4 separate regions of the Homo sapiens genome follow, and regions 2, 3 and 4 are each linked to region 1. Evidence: promoter capture Hi-C in 16 types of primary human blood cells and fetal thymus (Javierre and others, 2016). All regions are on one chromosome and are shown on one strand. The core of a region is centred on a gene start or on the middle of the fragment in contact, and the rest is flanking DNA. Distances in the headings are between cores, read along the strand shown. Region 1 holds the start of SSX2IP (SSX family member 2 interacting protein). Region 2 has its middle 15 kb from the start of SAMD13. Region 3 has its middle 30 kb from the start of DNASE2B. Region 4 overlaps PRKACB (protein kinase cAMP-activated catalytic subunit beta).

Region 1 (4,203 bases), core at 478-2,977:
AAAACTATTTTTGTTATAATACTAAGATATTATTTGCCTTTTTCCCTCTCATTATGAGTGCACAGTAGAGTTTTCCAGACGCTACCTGAAATAGCACAACAGATCGAATGCACAAACAGATATGAAAATCCAAATGCCTTCTATTAAGCAAGACATTAAAGATATGGGCAAAATTTTAAAGTAACACCATTCTTTTAACTAATTTTTTGAAAATAGTTATTTTTAATTAAAATGCGCTATTTGACATTTTTATTTTTATTCATTATTATTTTAAAAAATAGCAATTTTTAAATTTCTGTTTTAATATTAATAGCTGTAACCAACATAAAGAAAAGTTCTTGGGGCTCTCAATAATTTTACAAGTGGAAAGCGGTCTTGAGACCAAAAGATTGAGACCGCTGGTTTATTCAGGCAGATCTTATTCCTTTCCCGGGGTTGCTGAGGTCAGAGCTAAACTTCCCAGAGCTCAACTAAGCTTGGTTCAAACCTTTTAAAAATGTAACTGTTAATGGTAACGCCACCTGGGCTCAACAGCAGCTAGACGGGCCTCTGATTGCTTGGCCAAAGGAAAAGAGGAGGATTTCGTTGGGCCCTGAAGTTGTCACCGTGGCGTGCTTCTTCTGGCCCTGATCTTTCATCCAGGATTGGGGATACGTGCATGCAAACTGGGAGGTGGACATTCCTCCCGCTCTTGTTTTTCAGTGTTAGCATCTTCACTCATACTGTTTTGGTTTCAAAGTGCTCTCAGGAGTCTCCTTAAAACACCAAACCTGTTTTTCGCCTTTTGAATAAATCCCTTGGCTTCACCAAAACTAAACAAAACAAAAATCAAAGAACATCTTTGTGTAACCTATATGCCTGTGATTTCTCCATCTGATCTCCTTTCTCTGGCCTCTTTTCTTTTCTTCCCCAGTGAATTTTAGGCTGCCATGAAACCAGGGAGGAGACAGCCTGACCCTGGCCACGGGTGCAGCAGGCATACATTTTCATCGCACATACTTTGTCGAGTGGGTGTAAGACATTTTTGCATAAACTGAGTTCACGAATGCTATTTCTTAGTCTTTCCTTTGCCCGCGGTCTTCTGCCCAGATCCATTTCTTCGCCCTAATTTTACATATAACTTTCTCCCGGCTGGATTGTTTGCATCCACGACTCCCGACGCTTGAACCTCCCGTTCCTTGGACCTGACCTAATTCTAGGTGCCCGCAGTTTATTTCTCCACTTTGGCAAACGCACGTGGCTCTCCTGGAAGCTTCACTTTTGCTGCTAGGCTGGGTGTTGGGGTTCAGTGGGGCTCGGAAAACGTGCTCTAAAGTAGCCACGACCCCGGTCCCTGCAGAGTCCCGGCCCCCACAGAGCCCCGGCCCCGGACGCTGCAGGCGTCAGAAGGGGGCGGGGAGCAGAAAACGGCCGGGTGAATCACTGGGCGTAACAGGTGCCGCAGCCGCAGCTGCGCCCGCAGCGCGCGCGGACCGCAGGGATAAGGTCTTCTTTTTCTCCGGGTTTTTTTGGAGGTAAGGAGGAGACTACCGAGGCCCCCACCCGACCAATGCAGGCCACGGTTGTTCATCGCCTAGCAACTGGCGGAGCCAATGGGAGGCGGCGGGGCCTGCGGCGCCGGCGCGCGGGGGCGGGGTGGGAACCTCGGAAACCTGCGGAGGCCGGGAGGCGGCTGCAAGGGGCGGGGAAGGCGGGAGCCCGCAGCGGAGGAGGGGCCGCGGGCGGGAGGCGCTGCGAGGCGCTGCTGGCCCTCGGGCTGCGGGAGCCGGGCTAGGACGCCGAGCGGTGACTCCCCGCCGCTCCCGGGGGCCGTGACGGTGAGCAGCAGCGCCTCGCGTCGGGGATTGTGACGCGCCCCGCCAGGGAGGGGCGGGCGGGGGTGGGCGCCGGCAAGGGGCGGGCGCGCGCGGAGGTGAGAGCCGGCACCTGGCTCAGCGCCCCGTTGTTCGGCGGGAGGCTCCGCGCGGCTGTTGGGGCCGTTGCAGGGTGCGGGCGAGCGTCGACCCGGGCCGCTCCTGGAGGAGGAGGTGGGAGGTAGGTGCTGGCCCCGGGACCGCTCTCGCTGGCGTTCGCGGAGCTGCGCCTGCGGAGCGCTCTGACCCGGGGAGCCCCAAACCCTCTCTGGGATGGAGCAAGGTTGGCGCCCGGCGTTGGGGGACGAGCAGCGCGGGGACGTGGGGGAGGAGGGGATGGCCGATTTGGGGCTGCAGAGTCTCAGCAGCGGCCGTGGGGCATGCGGGGTTTGGCGATTTGCTAGTGCAGCCGCAAGAGGCAGTCTTTAAAACGAGTTATTGGGTGGCCGCTGCAGTGGAAGAGAACCCCGATAGTGGTCTAGTAAAAAGTCTAGGGGAAGAATTTACATCATCCAAGAGGCAGGCATGTGTGAAAATACTTTGGTTTATAATTTTATCATGAAAATACTTTGGTTTAGAATTTTATAGTCAACGACAGTAAACTGAATTGTGAGCTCCCTGCACATTTTTTGAGCCTATGCTGATTGCCCAGTTAGGCATATCGCTTGGGCCCAGGACATAGAATATACTAATTTGCTGTCTGCACGTATAATGTAGGAATTTTTAGATTATTACCCAGTTTCAGGACCCATAGTTGTAAATGCCAAACTGCGATTACTAGCAACGCTGATAAAGTTCTTGAATCTGAGAGAATTGAGATTTCTCTTTTCTGGACGCTGTAATAGGTTGAGGATTAGAAAAGAAGGTGATTTAGAAGTGTAAGGGTGGAGGCTTCTTGAACTTCCTGGGCTTTCTAACAATTCAGATTAGAGTCAAGGTGTAGAGTTAGCTGTGGGTGATGGATGTCATGGACCTTTTCATGGTTCATGGGGGTTTGGCTTACTGTGGGGTAGAAGAAAATTCTGGTGATCCTACAGTTTGATCCTGAACTAGAAAGGTTGGTATGAGTTGACTCATTTAGGAGAGTGAATAAAATTTGTAAAGAATTAGAAATTTGGAGAGGAAAGAAATGCCTTTAAAGTTCACGTCAAGCTATTTTGAAATTTAGAAGTTAGAGGTAGATTTATGAATTTGGATCCAGTCGGCAAAACTTGATCCATCAGATCTCTTATCCTAAAACTATCAACCTACAGGCTTAGGAAGCTTAGGTTATTCATTCACACTAAACAAGTAAGGAAAGCTAATAGCTAATTTAACACTCTGTTCTGCCTGCTGTTAATGAAGGTTTCTCAAACAAAACGGTTCTTTGAGAAGAGGGTTAGGAACTGATAATTAAAACGAAGGCTCTTTTAGTGACTGGCTGAACCTCTTAGGCCAAGTCATTTTGTACTCTTCCTTCCCTTCTCTTTCCCCAACTGTACAGGGAAGATAAAAAGCTCATGGATTACGTAACATGGGTGAGGCAGCTTGAAGATAACTGTGAAGACTTAGTTATTCTAGGATGAAATGTGGAGATCTCATAACACATTGTGCCTTGTGACAAGACTTGTTAAAGCACATTATGTTCTAAACATAATGAGGCAGATATATGAGAAAACTAAAATGTTACGCTGAAATTGTTTGCTAAAGACCTCAAGTCCAGCACAGTGTCCAATTGTATACTTGGGATCTCCTAGTACTTGACAGTCTGCTTTTTGGCCAAAGCAGGCCGTGACACCGGTTTTATAAAGTAGGCGTTTGAGTGCCTTTTATGTAGTATACCCCTAGAGAAATTAGGTGCATGAAAAGACACCGCCCCCAAATTGTGTGATTTTAATTCATTTAACATGCTTAAATTGGATCGATTTCAAAGATTTTTAAGTTATTTTTTCCATATCTTTTACAATAGCTGTGAATATGCCTTACTGGTTTCACCATTTGCTCATGACGCAAAGAGGTTTTGATACGATGTGGGTTTGTTTTGTGGCTTTGGTAATGGTGATATGGTTAGCTAGTAGTGAAGGTACAAGTTATCTTGAATTCACGAGTTTATGGGATGAGATAGAATAGAGAAATGCACCATTCATTAGTAGTAATGAAAAACATCCTAGAATTGTGCCTTTTGATTGTGGGCCAATGTTTTATGTAGTACCAGCAGATTTACTGAATTATTCTTTAGTAATTCTTTCAATAAACATTCATTAAACGCTTAGTAAGCTGCTACTTGCCTGACCTGAGGATAAAAAGATGAGTGTTGCCTTGAGGAATTTGTATTTTAGAAATTATCAGCATAGTGAGGCAGGAAGCAAAA
Region 2 (4,675 bases), core at 964-3,463, 400 kb after region 1:
TGGGGACAATTGGGAGCTGTTTAAGAAGGCTACCTGCCACACTCTAGCAATTGGGGAGTTGTAAAGTCTGTTTTAAATAATATGCTTACATTTTTATTTTTCAATTAACTTTAGAAATGCAATGATGATGAAATGATGAAATCAGTCTACTTAACTTCTCTCTTTTCTCTTCCCACCTCTTAGTTTGGAAAGCAAATATGATTCTTGTTCCAGTCTATTGTCATCAAAATATTATGATTTATATTATGTATTTTTTTAGTATTAAAACAACTATATTTAATTTTATGACTTAAAATGCCAATTACTTAAATATGTGTAGTAGACTTAAAGCTCACGGCTTAACCTTTTGTACATCATGACTTTCTCATTCATGAATTTTATTTTATGGTTACTTATCTGTTTATTGTCTTAATTTTTTTTCCTGACAGATTTTTCAGAGGTGCATAAATGCTATTTTTCTTGAATTCTTGCATATTTGAGAATTTATTTCTGTCATGATTACACATGAAGGTGGTTAGACCAGATAAGTATCGGGGGAACCAGCCCCCAATATTTCAATGTAGGTTCTTTTCTATTTTCCCTAAGTGTCGGCCGGTCTAAGAAATAAAGGGAAAGAGCACAAAAGAGAGAAATTTTAAAGCTGGGTGTCCGGGGGTTACATCACAGGTCATCAGGTTCCGTGATGCCCCCAAGCCAAAAAACCAGCAAGTTTTTATTATGGATTTCAAAAGGGGAGCGGGGTACAAATAGAGTATGGGTCACAGAGATCACATGCTTCAAGGGCAATAAAATATCACAAGGCAAATGGGGGCAGAGTGAGATCACAGGACCAGGGAGAAATTAGAATTGCTGATGAAGTTTCATGTCCCACTGGGCACGCATTGTCATTGATAACATCTTATCAGGAGACAAGTTTTGAGAGCAGACAACTGGTCTGACTAAAATTTACTAGGCAGGAATTTCCTAATCCTAATAAGCCTGAGGGCACTGCAGGAGACCGGGGCTTATTTCATCCCTTATCTACAACTGTATAAGACAGACACTCCCAGAGTGGCCATTTTAGAGACCTCCCCCTAGGAATGCATTCTCTTTCTCAGAGCTGTTCCTTGCTGAGAGAAAGAATTCAGACATATTTCTCCTATTCACTTTTGTAAGAAGAGAAATATGACTCTGTTCTGTCTGGCCCAGCAGGCAGTCAGGCCCAGTGGTTATCTCCCTTGTTCCCTGAAAATCGCAGCCATGCTGGTCCTTTTGGATGCCCAGATTTCATATTGTTCAAACACACATGCTCTACAAACAATTTGTGCAGATAACGCAATCATCACAGGATCCTGAGGCGACATACATCCTCAGTTTACGAAGATGACAGCATTAAGAGATTAAAATAAAGACAGGCCTAGGAAATTATAAGAGTATTGACTGGGGAAGTGATAAATGTCCAAGAAATCTTCACAATTTATGTTCAGCGATTGCAGTAAAGACAGGCATAAGAAATTATAAAAGTATTAATTTGGAGAATGAATAAATGTCCATGAAATCTTCACAGTTTATGTTCTTCTGCCATGGCTTCAGCTGGTCCCTTCATTCAGGGTCCCTGACTTCCTGCAACAGATATGGAATGTTTTTTCTTCCTATGTTTGTTAGCCATTGCTCCATTTTCTTCTAACATTTAACATTGCTTAGAATATGCCTGATTCCTTTGTTTATGAAGATGACCTTTTTCCTTCTGCCTAGATGACTATAGGATTCTATTTCTTTTAGTCCTTAAAGTTCTAGAAAGAAAGCTTTTATTAAATTTGATTGGAATATGGTGAGCCTTTTCAAAATTCAATTTGAAAACTTACTTTAGTTCATAACATTCTTCTATTGTGTAATTTTTCATTTCCATTTGCTCATTCACATCTTCAAAGATAAAAGTCACTCATGTTTTAGTTCTCCATTGTCCATGGTCTACAACTTTCATCTTCTTTCTGATCACCTTCATTCCATGTCATTTTCCACCAAATTCCATGTGATTATTTTCTTCAATAGCTTCCTCTTCATGTCCAATTTTCTGCCGTTTAAATTCTCTTCCTTGGTACTTTTAATGTGATTTTCAGTTATTTAATTTCTTCTCATTTGATTCCTCTGCTTTTCTAGATTTCTCTTATTTTTACTGTTGCATGGGTTCTGTGATTTTTTTTTTCTAGATTAAAAAAAAAAACTACCTAAACTCTTTGAAGGAAGTCGATGAGATCTAGTTGATTTGCTTAAGAATAAAGGGAGTGATTTTCCTGCTTTTCCCTCTGTTTACCTGAGTAGTGTTTGAATCATCCACTTATAATGTAAGCTGGAGCACTAATGTTGATGGCTTATAATGTTTGGTTAGTCACTCAGTGATGGATGAGCTGGGTCAGGAGGAAAATTTGCTATGAATGAGGAAGAGACTCAGGAAGAGATTCATACTTTTTTTTTTTCCTACTTATTACCCACTTTTTTCCACAAAGCATTGGGAGGGAATTGTAATAATATAAAAAGCAATTTAAAAAACTAACATCAGAAAGAAAATACCAACACAAGAGGAGAAGAAAAAAATGAAGATATGTAGCTGTAGCATCCTACAAAGTTATTAAAATTAACTTACAGTGAGATGTTTAAGCTTCCTGACAACCAAATCAAGAAGAAACGTGTAATTAGATATATGATTCTCATTGACTCTAAAAGAAAACCTAACAGTTATTCAGGGGGAAAAATTTAACACTTACTTCTAAAAAAAAATCAAATTAGGCATGATTCTTAGTGAATTTTATTTAGTGAATTCAATAGTTCCATTCATTAAGTCATTTCTTCTTGCTCTGCTTGGTAAAAGGTGAAAACATGGCATCAAAACACAGCCCAGAGAAAGTCAATTCCTGTATTTCTAAGACAGTAGGATCCAGGCTTATTTGGAAGATAAAATATCTCTGGAAGAACAGATAGTGTTAATGGATTGAATCATTTTCCTCAAAAAGATATAACCCCCAGAACCTCAGAACGTGACCTTATTTGGAAATAGAGTCATAACATATGTAATTAGTTAAAATTAGTCCATATTGGAGTAGGGTGGACACTAATCCAGCAAGACTGGTGTCCTTGTAAAAAAGGAGAGATAAATAAAAGAATGCCATGTGAAGACAGAGAGACACAGAGGGAAGACAGAAGCAGGAATTGAAGTTGTGCTGCCACAAGGAAAGGAAGACCAGGGGCTACAAGAAGCTGGAAGAGGCAAGGAGAGATCTTCCTCGAGAAGCTTCAGAGGGAGTGCTGCCCTGCCAGCCCCTTTATTTCAGAATTCTGGCCTTCAGACTGGGAGAGAATAAATTTCTGTTGTTTTAAGCCACCCAGTTTGTGGTACTTTATTACAGCAGCCTTAGGAAACTAATACAGATAAACTGCATTTCAGTCAACAATGTTTTATAAATGTTAGCTCTCTCAATCAAGATTTGGTATGTGCTGGACAGTAGAAAGTTTGATAAGTGACTAAAGTAAGTTTTATGTGCTGATATTGAGGATAGATCCATATGCTTTAAATTTTAAACCTGCAAATATTGCTAAGGTTGACATCCTTGAGAACATTGGGACACCTGAGGTTCACACTTGGGCTGTTAGTCATCACACTACATGTGGGGAAGGGCCAAGTGTATACTTTAAAACAAGTCCAGGGTTATTGCTGCTGCTTCTTCTTCCTCTTCTTCTTCTTCTTCTTCCTCTTCTTCCTCCTCCTCCTCTTCCTCCTCCTCCTTCTTCTTCTTCTGACTTCTTCTCCTTCTTCTCCTTCCCCTCCTTCCCCTCCTTCTTCTTCTTCTTTCTTTTCTTCTTCCTCAGTGTGGGATCTGTTTTATCATATGTAATAAATGAACATTACTGAGATGATTTAGTTTAGAAAGTTTACAAAATGGGTGATACCTATACTTACTATAAGAATTGGAGTGACATATATTATTAGCTATAAATCGGTTAGAAATGCATGATAATTTTAGGTAGTTGATATGCCAAGATTTATAGCAAAGTATGGATAAGGAAACCGAATTCTCTGTGGAAACCACCGCTAGTCATTGAAAAGTCATCACTGGAATACAGGATATGTCCTGTATTCCATGCCCTCTTAGATTTACAGATTTTTCCAAAAGTTGTCTTCTTTTCTTCCTTCCTTTATTTCTTCCTATCTAGAGGTTTTTATTCCTAGGCAGATGGTATTAAGAAGCAAAATTTGTACAGCCTCATCCCTTTATCCAAAGGTCAAACTTTTGGACATTCTCCAAAATACAGCAGCAGTCTAGAAATATGGAAAGAGGGGCAGGTCTCTGAGCATTAGAAAGAATCATAAACCTTCTGAATTAAAATAATGAAGTTTTTTGTAGAAGGATGACCAGTTGAAGACAAGCTCACTGACAAGGGAAAGATATATTAAACAGCAAATATAAGGTGATATTGGTTTACTTAAAATAGTGGGTATCCTAAAGGAATCAGGCATCTAGGGACAGGGAAGGACCGAGGGATATGTTCCTTATATCCCAAGGTATAAACAATCTGAAATAATAAAAATACAAGTAAAAATATAGAGAGGGGACTTCTCCTACTCTGAAGAACTTAACATGAGTAATAAAATATATAAATCTTTTAAATGCAAGGATAAATTTAAAAGTAAAATATATAA
Region 3 (4,687 bases), core at 661-3,160, 260 kb after region 1:
TGCAGCTCACACTCAACACAGTTTCTCGTTGTATCAATTTCTCATGTAATCAAAAGGACCAACTCCTTACCCTCTCTGCCTAACAGAGGAAAGGGAGAACCCTCTCTGTAGAAGATAGCATTTGGAATCTTCACATTTTTTTATACCCTATGTCTGACACATAATAAAAAACTAGTAGATATGGGACAAGGCAATAAAATGTGGCCAGTAATAAAGAGAAAAGGCAGGCAATAGAAGCAGACTCATAGATGATCTGGATATTAAAGCCAATAGACAAAAGCTTTAGAGCATAAGGCAGAGGCCAACAAAAGAACCAACACTTCCAATATAGACTAATAATTATTTATGGTTGAGTGATGGTTTGTAGGGGGCTGTCCTCAGTTGGGAGAAATTTTCCTGTTTCTCTTGTCCTTATTGAGGGAGGGGCATTGGTAAGAATAGAGGAGAAGTGGTCCTTGGACTGTACACCAGGACCAGGCCTTGTGGCCTAGACTGTGAGTGAGAGTAAATCTTCCAGAGTTCCAAAAGAGTGGTAGTGAGGCAGATTGGGAGAGCTGGGTAACCAAGTCTCAAATACCAAAGAGGAGCAAAGAAGCAGAGGCAAAACGTCCAGGAATCAAAGAGAACTGATGCATGAAGGTGGAGACTAAAGACATTTCCTGATTCAAAACACAGATAAAGCAGCACATAGGAGGCAAGCTGGAGGGAATAGATTTGAGATGTTAACGAGGCACAATCAAGCGGTGGTGGTGATTGTTTGGATGAATGAATGAATGAATGAATGAAAAAAAAAGTCCATATGTCTCCAAAGCAGGGTTACTGGATTAATGGTTCCCAGAAAGGGAAACTCAAGGAGGGGCTGTTCTGATGAGCAGATAGGAGTCATGGATATGGTATGTTTTCAGTGTCATCTAGGTGGAGGTATTTACTACACGGTTTTTCACATCCACATGCATGTGCATGCAGACACACACACCCCCAGTGAGAACTTTGTCAGAAATATAATATGGGTGCCATCATGATAGTGGATAAGATTGCCCAGGGAAAATATTTCAAGTGAGAAGAGATCCAAAGATAAAACCTAGAGAAGTATTGACATTTAGAGTTCAGACAGAGAAAGAGAAACTTGAAAGGAGACCCAGGTAAGTCAGAGGAAGAAATAAAATAAGGTAAAGCAGAATCTCAGGGATGTGGAGGAGAGTCTGGCTTAAGAAAGGGACACAGGCCAATGGGCAAAGGATACAAACAAATCTTTTTTTTTCTTTTTTTAAAGCACTGGAAATTAGCAAGACAAGAGTCATTGGAGAGGTGGCCACAAGATTGAGAGCTTTTCCTACAAGTTTGATTGTGAAGGGAAAGAGAGGTATAGGTCAGTTCTAGGATAGGGTGTGGTGCTATAGAACCCAGGCAGGTTTTTTGTTTGTTTTCTTTTCAAGGTGGGAGAGCCTTGAACATGTTTATGTGGTAAAGAGAAAGATCTAATAAAGAGCAAGTGGCCGAAGAAGTGGGAGGAGATAAATAATGGTGTCAAGTCCTGGAAGAAGTAGGAAGATATGAGATCTATTTAATAAAATAACCAGTGGTGAGATTCGATTAAAAAATACACACTGTGTGGCCATGTGTGCATGTGTGAATGTATATATGTGTGTATAATATACTTATATATCAATAAGAACATATAAGTAAAAATCAATTCTTTCTGGATGGGGATTTTTAATAATGTAGTCTATCTAATATATTAAGTGGTGGTACTATTAATTGTCAACATATTATAACCTAAACTTAAATGCCAATTTAAAAATTTTATTTTAGAAAGTGATTTTTCCAAAATGTTTTACGTAGTATGTTGCCTTCTTAAATGAAATATTCGGAACACAATTTGACCTTTTCTCGATGACTCACTTTGAACATCAATCATTGTTCAATTCTGTAATACTGCCATGCCCTCAGGAGCCACTAAGGTCCACAGGGCCGTTCACCCAATGTTAAATGGCTCCAGACAGCTGTGCTGTTAAGAGTTCTTCTGTCTTTCCACCCTGTCATTTGTCACTTCTCTGCTGTTGTCATTGTTTGCCAAGGCATCCTGCTGCTTTTTCTTTTTCTGTTTTTTTTTTTTTTTTTTTTTTTTGAGACAGAACTGTGCTTTGTCGCCCAAGATGGGAGTACAATGGCGTGATCATGGCTCACTGTAGCCTCAATGACCTGGACTCCAGTCCTGCCTTAACCTCCCAAGTAACTGGAACTACAGGCATGCACCACCATACCCAGCTGGTTTAAAATTTTTTGGTTTTTTTTTTGTAGAGACAAGGTCTCACTATGTTGCCCAGGCTGATCTTAAACTCCTGGGCTCAAACCATCCTCCTGCCTTGGCTTAAGACTTCCTGCTTCTTATATGTTGCCTTCACTCTGTATAAACCTGCTGAGTGAAGACCAAAGAGCAGCTGCAGCCATTCCTAAAGTGCAGACACAGACACAGGGACAACTTGTTCAGCCACTCGGGTGTCTTTTTGCAGAGCCCTGATGGGAAGATGGTTGGACTGGCCTGCCTCCGTTCCTACTGGGCCGAGGAATGGACTGAGGTTGGCTGCAAGTCTGACTTTTTGGATATAGGGAAACAACTGGCTTGCAGCATGTACCAGTCTCTCCTTGGTCACCAGACACTGCTCCATCTCACAGAGGTGTGTAGACCTGAGTCATCAGGAGACTGGTTAAACCCTTATCTGCATATGGTCGTGAGCTACTGGATATTACAGTAAATTAGTCATGAAATCTGACCAGTGTTTTGTTTTTGTTTTTCTGATGGTGGGGACAAATTATTTTGCCTGTGGCAAAAGTAGCTGGATTTTTATAGCTCCTTTTCCTGCTCTCTAGGACCAGCTACCCCAGAGACAAATTGTCCCATTGTTAAAATCTTTGTCTAACACCTCTGGGAGGAAAAACTACCTCCCTGGCTCATACATCAAAGTGTGGGATTGCCATTTTCTTCCTTTGCCCCTTACCTCTCGCTCATCATTTGGCTGATCCAGAGTGGCCGAGACCAGCTCTATCTCTAAAGTCAGAGCTCACAGCCCACTCATGAATCAGCAATCTTTTCACCCAAAATGAAAACAAAAGGAAGCAGTCCCCTTTCCAGAAGGTTGTAGATATATGACATTGATATCAATCTATTATTTAGGATAACCATTTAAATTATACCTCTCCTTCAATTCTGTTTTTTTTTTTTTTTTTTTTTTTTTTTGAGATGGAGTCTTGTTCTGTTGCCCAGGCTGGAGTGCAGTGTTGCGGTCTCGGCTCACTGCAAGCTCTGCCTCCGGGTTCATGCCGTTCTCCTGCCTCAGCCTCCTGAGTAGGTGGGACTACAGGTGCCCACCACCACGTCCAGCTAATTTTTTGTATTTTTTAGTAGAGACGAGGTTTCACTGTGTTAGCCAGGATGGCCTCGATCTCCTGACCTCGTGATCTGCCCGCCTCAGCCTCCTTCAATTCTGCTTTAAACACCTCTCAGCCATACAGTGATAATTCGAACATAGGGGAAGCTTAAGACAGTCCAGGTATATTGAAAAGATTGTCTTCTGTGGCTAGCTTTCCTGCCAAACCACCAGAAACTTCCTGATATTACAGGAAATGAATAAAAACAGTGGTGAATGGAAGAGATAGGATCTTGGGATTAGATTAGGATACTGCAGACCTAGCAAACTGGTGGCTTCCCTATCTACAAAGGTAATGAAGAAGATCCTGGACTAGCGATTGCATACACAAAGTACTTCCATTAAAGCCAAAACAAATGACCAAATATTTATTGAACACTTGACTGCCTAATACCCAGATACAAAGTCTTCATTTGTACTAAAGCACCATGTACACTTCAGATGTTGCAGCCTAGAAACCCTGATCAGAACACACAATTTTATTCAGCGAACATTGCCCTAAGAGGGTAGGGATGCATTATAATACTGCCTGTTTATCTTGTGTAAGAACCTTATATATATTATTTTTCTTAATTTTCTCCATTTTACAGATGAGGAAATCAAGGCTTTGAGGATTTAAGAAAATTGTCTGAGGCTGTAAAGTGCCAGGACTGTAATTTAAAATTCTAAAACCCTATTCACGTGGTGTCATGTGTGTTTGCTCTGTAAATAATTACAGCAGCACCTGGCCAGGTGCGGTGGTTCACGCCTGTAATCCCAGCACTTTGGGAGGCCGAGATGGGCGGATCACGAGGTCAGGAGATCGAGACCATCCTGGCTAACACGGTGAAACCCCGTCTCTACTAAAAATACAAAAAAATTAGCCAGGCCTAGTGGCAGGCGCCTGTAGTCCCAGCTACCCAGGAGGCTGAGGCGGGAGAATGGCGTGAACCCGGGAGGCGGACCTTACAGTGAGCCGAGATCGCAACCACTGCACTCCAGCCTGGGCGACTGAACAAGACTCAATAATAATAATAATAATAATAATAATAATAATAATAATAATAACAGCAGCACCCTTTAATCTGCTTGTTAATGTTATAGCAGAAACTTTTGTTCATACTGACAGCATTTGCAAAGAACTTCATGGATGTTTATAAGGCATTCGGGCTTGTGTTTGTAGCTTCCTCTTCCTTGAGAAGATTTCTTCTATTTATTTCCTCTTCATTCGTCAAGTATGAGATAAAGTAAGAAAAAGATTGTTTTTTATCTATTTGTCT
Region 4 (4,684 bases), core at 1,829-4,328, 490 kb after region 1:
TGATTATAAAGTCTTGTACATTTGAGTTTTAGAAATAACTATTATCTTCTAAAAGTTCAAGATGAAGTTACAACCAAAAAGTAAATCCATTCATGTTGTTCATGGTATCCATACTGAGTGATTTAAACTCACTATCTAGTTTACTGACTTCAAATTACTACTCCCAGTAATTTGAGACGCCAAGACAGGTGGATCACTTGAGGTCAGGATTTCAAAACCAGCCTGGCCAACATGGTGAAACCCTGTCCCTACTAAAAACACAAAAATTAGCCGGGCGTGGTGGCACATGCCTGTAGTCCCAGCTACTCAGGAGGCTGAGGCAGGAGAATCACTTGAACCCAGGAGGCAGAGGCTGCAGCGGGCCAAGATTGTGCCACTGCACTTCAGCCTGGTCAACAGAGCAAGATTCCATCTCAAAAAAGTAAAAAATAAAAATGAATAAGAAGAAAATGAAATAAAATAAAGCCAAATCAAATTTGTTTACACTAAGCTTAATCACAGAAATTACAAAGTTGATATTCGAAAGGAGGGAAAAATCTTACTGCTATTCTGCAATTATTGGCAGGAGAAATGATCATTTAACTAGTAACATTATCTTTTATGAATCAGGATAAAATTATTAGGCTTACATGACTCAAAAGGGTTTATATACAGCCAAGAAGCAATAATCTACTAACTACTGGCTACGAGCATGTTGAGATAAATTTTAACAAATTATTTATAAATTAGGTACAGTAAGTTCTCAAAATATCTGCAATCCCAGTAAAGAATTGATTGATCAAAAATGAACATACACATTAGACAATTTTTCAACAGGCATAATAACTTTTCATACGCTAGGCATGTTATAGATATGGTGCCGAGTTCCACACTACCTCATAAGACCTGGGCATCTTTAATCAGCCTGGATTCTATATGTGAAAAGAAAGAGCTAAGACATTAAAAATATTTATAAATATTGGTACTGCATCTGTGGGCTCTCTAATCTGTTCCCTTACCTATGCAGAAACAGTGGTAGATATAATGAGTCTACAAGGTTGCAGAGGATTATGATCCACCCCATTCTCCCTCCCCCTGCTCTCACATAAGAAGCCAGTTTTGCAATTATTTGCTCATAGGACCACAAGAGCTGTCAGAAAGAAGGTATTAATAAGAATTTTAAATAGCCACAGTGAAGTGTTTAAAACTGGCCCTGGGTTTTATGAAAAGAGTAAAACTGCTTTTGTGTTTTATGAAAATGATTTCTGAATACTTCTAAGTCTCTTTAACTATGGCCATAGCAAAATAGTAAATGACATTGTAATTTCCCCAAAAGCATTAACAATAGTATCTTAGAAAAAGTATAGTGGAATATCTGCATATGTGTATGTTATTTAGGAAACCGAATGTGTGTAGAAAAGACTTAACATAGTAGGCCTGAGACTGCTACCCTTAGAAAGAACTGCTTACAAGTTTGGCCCTTGAGAGATGTCTGGCAACTTGAATAGTACCAGTGCCCTTATACCAACATGAAACTTTCCCTAAAGGATTAGAGTGGCTCACTGTGCCTACACTGTTGGTACAAACAACATAGTTTATTCTGAACAACTACTTTTGTTCTGGGAGGCTGGGATTTTGGCATGTGCTAGGCAGAGGGTGCATATGTGACCAACCCCCAATGAAAACTTTGGGCATTGAGTATTTAATGAGTGTTGCTGGTAGATAAAATTTCACGCTTGTCACAGCTTGTTGCTGAAGGAATTATGTGCATCCCTTGTGAATGCCCTGGGAGAGGACTCTTGAAAGCTTGTGCCTGGTGTCTTCTGGACTTTTGCTATCTTCACTTTGTACCCTTTTGTTGTAATAAATCTTAGCCTCAAGTACCACTGTATGCTGAATCTTGTTGAGTCCTCCTGGTGAATCATCAAACCTGGAGACAGTCTTGGGGACTCCTGAGACAGAAAGGAATAGCAATTGGGCTGATAATCAATTACCCTTCATGTAAATATTGAATTTCCCTTCAGGAAAAATTAACCAACTCTTTGATCATTCAGTATATACTTATGTTTATACTTCTCTATGTTGCATGTCTCCTTATATATTGTTACTCATTAGGAGTGGAACAATATTTACATTAGATATGTTGAAGCTAAGAATTTTTTTAAATTACATAAGCCAAGGGCTCTAAAGTTATGGTTTCCATAGTAGCTGTTACTTGAGTACCTTATTTGCAAGTATAATTTTTGACTGCAATATAAACTTTCTATATTTCCATGGGTAACGCAGCCAGACAAAGGTGCTATAGAGACCATAACTGATTCTTGTCATGGAGTACATGACACTGAGACATGAAATTTAAAGACTACATACAGAAACTCAGCATATGTATTGTTAGGATGAGGCATAGTTAATGCAGGAATCATAAATCTTTTCTTTCAACTATGAATTTGTAGACTCAAACCTTAACATTGCATGAATAATGTGACATTTAAATACCACCTCCTCTGTTTTTTTAAAGGCAAAATATGTGTAGGAGAGAATCTAACAAGTTGATTGATCATCTTTGTGTGCATTTAAAAATACCAGCTTGAGTTAAAATATTGTAATAGAGAAAGTATTTTACAATCTAATATTCATATATATGTACTTTAGTGAATTTATCACTTAATTAATAAATTTAACTTTGATAAGTCATTGATACCTATAATCTTTATAACGTGACTTCAGAATGGTGGATATAATCAATATAAGATGCTGTTTCATAAAATAATATGCTTCTAAAATCAACAAAAACAATTCTGAATGAAAAGCATATTCTTAAATGATATATCATTAAAACCATTAAAAGTTCAAATGCAAATATAAATATAAGGATCCACAAATATAAGACCAAATTGGATTTTTAATAATTTGCACAATTTAAAAAATTTAAAAAACTAGTTAGTTTCCAATTTGGCTTTTAGCCACTAACCAGAGAGACAATAATATTTTTGCAATGTGAATAGAGACACATTCTAGTTTGAATTTGAGTTTTGAAACAGATGATTTATTGGGAAATGGTTAATACAATCTAACTTCACATAATACAGAGCCTTTTAATGGCAAAAATTCCACTTTCATGACTTCTACTTTAGATGAGTAAAGGGAGTAAGAGATGGGGATAATTTTATATCCCACATGGGGAGAGATAATCTGGTACTTTTAGTTAAAAAACAAAAGTACACCAAATATCCTGTCATATTTCTAAATAAATGAAGGGGAAAACAGAATATTGTGATATAATAAGGTTTTCTGGTGTCATTCTTCTAAGGTGCCCAGGATTTAGACTGTTATGATTTTAGAATATATGCTGATTATTAGATACAAAATTTTAAAGTTTGATATAAAATGAATATATATTCATAAACAGCTGAATATAAAATTTAACCAATAGAGAATGATTGGCAAATCGAGGCCAATGCATAAAAATGAAGACACATTAATTTTAACTAAAGCAGTTTTTCTTAATAAATGTAAATTTAGTTATGACAGTATCCTTGTTAGAAAATTGGATTTCTTATATGAATATAAATAAAAGTAATATAGTAAAGATTCAAGAACTTTATAATTACTGTCAATTAAATGATTTGAAACAATTATTATAACATTTACATTCTTAGTTTTTGTATTAGTAAAATATTCTTCTTCCATTTGTGATTTTAATGTATTTTGGTTCTCTCATCATTCTTCATATGACCTTTAGTCCTCTTGAGAGTCTACACTTCTCAAATTCTTCAAAAATAAATCACTGCCTTGTCTGTTAATTTTTCTCAAAGTTTTGTTTTGTTCATATCAAAAGTTCTGCTGGGAGAAAACAATTACAAAGATAAGAAGTCTGAAGCCAGAGATCTACAAATGTAAGAAGAACAGCAGTGATACTGATACTTGTTTAAATAAGTACTGCATTCTGCTTTTCTGTATTGCCTTTATCAGTGCACAGCATTCAACACCTAGCTAGGTTTATTTATCTGTAAGAGGTATTTATTTTTTTACCTTTGACATAGTTGGAGTATAAATTCTTTAGTCAGTCTCCTAATTTGTGAATACTGATAATAAATAAAACTTTCTACATAAAACGTGGCAAAATACAAGGGAAAATCTCATGACCCAGGTAGAGTGCATATGTACTATGAGATAGGGAACAATACTGTGCTGAAATGTATGTTCTAGGTGATTGGATAGACTAATTCTATTGGCAAATGTCTTGTTGCTACAGCCCAGCTGTGCAGCATCTATGATTTAAATTTGAGTGTTGGCAAAAAAAATAAATTACCACATTAGAGACATTCAGGGTACCTTGTGAATAGTTAACAATGGAAATTGTAAGTTGATAGATGCCAAGGGTAAGCTTTCACACTAAATGTAGAGCTTGAATATGGCTGAGATACAAAGAAATAAAGACCTTCCCTCTACTATCTCCTTCCGGCTTATCTCTGCCTAAGAAGGTCACAAAATACAAAGCAAACAAATAAAAAATAAAACAAAAAAACCTCAACTCTATAACATCTCAGGCTAATGTGATAAAGATTGATGCTCTATTTCCTGATCATATTCTAAATGGGACTATGTGGGAAAGAAAAGAAAAGACAAAGCAGTACCACATGTAGAAATAGAAAGAAGGGAAAATAAGCAAAATATCCCTTCCCATATATTTTGTCATTAATGT

What was found. Contacts are between HindIII fragments. The CHiCAGO score rates a contact against its expected background, and 5 or more counts as called.
Region 2: a contact is called between a fragment that was not itself captured here and the fragment with the promoter of SSX2IP in region 1, in 2 of 17 cell types (erythroblasts and fetal thymus). The highest score is 5.9, in erythroblasts.
Region 3: a fragment that was not itself captured here is called in contact with the fragment with the promoter of SSX2IP in region 1 in 1 of 17 cell types (monocytes); the score reaches 5.6 in monocytes.
Region 4: a contact is called between a fragment that was not itself captured here and the fragment with the promoter of SSX2IP in region 1, in 1 of 17 cell types (total CD4 T cells). The highest score is 5.9, in total CD4 T cells.

What each region holds. Positions count from the first base shown.
Region 1 is chr1:84,687,985-84,692,187 of GRCh38, reverse strand. It overlaps SSX2IP (SSX family member 2 interacting protein), which reads left to right and starts at 1,727. Exons shown (of 14, transcript NM_001166293.2): 1 at 1,727-1,817. RefSeq lists a silencer at 1,516-2,275. The HindIII fragment of the contact is 1,864 bases long and covers 1,255-3,118 here.
Region 2 is chr1:84,283,952-84,288,626 of GRCh38, reverse strand. No RefSeq gene overlaps it. Among named protein-coding and RNA genes, the nearest start is that of SAMD13, 15 kb to the left of the region's middle. RefSeq lists a silencer at 894-1,094. The HindIII fragment of the contact is 854 bases long and covers 1,787-2,640 here.
Region 3 is chr1:84,425,719-84,430,405 of GRCh38, reverse strand. No RefSeq gene overlaps it. Among named protein-coding and RNA genes, the nearest start is that of DNASE2B, 30 kb to the right of the region's middle. The HindIII fragment of the contact is 3,256 bases long and covers 283-3,538 here.
Region 4 is chr1:84,203,617-84,208,300 of GRCh38, reverse strand. All of the region lies in intron 8 of PRKACB (protein kinase cAMP-activated catalytic subunit beta), which reads right to left. Among named protein-coding and RNA genes, the nearest start is that of PRKACB, 62 kb to the right of the region's middle. The HindIII fragment of the contact is 2,581 bases long and covers 1,788-4,368 here.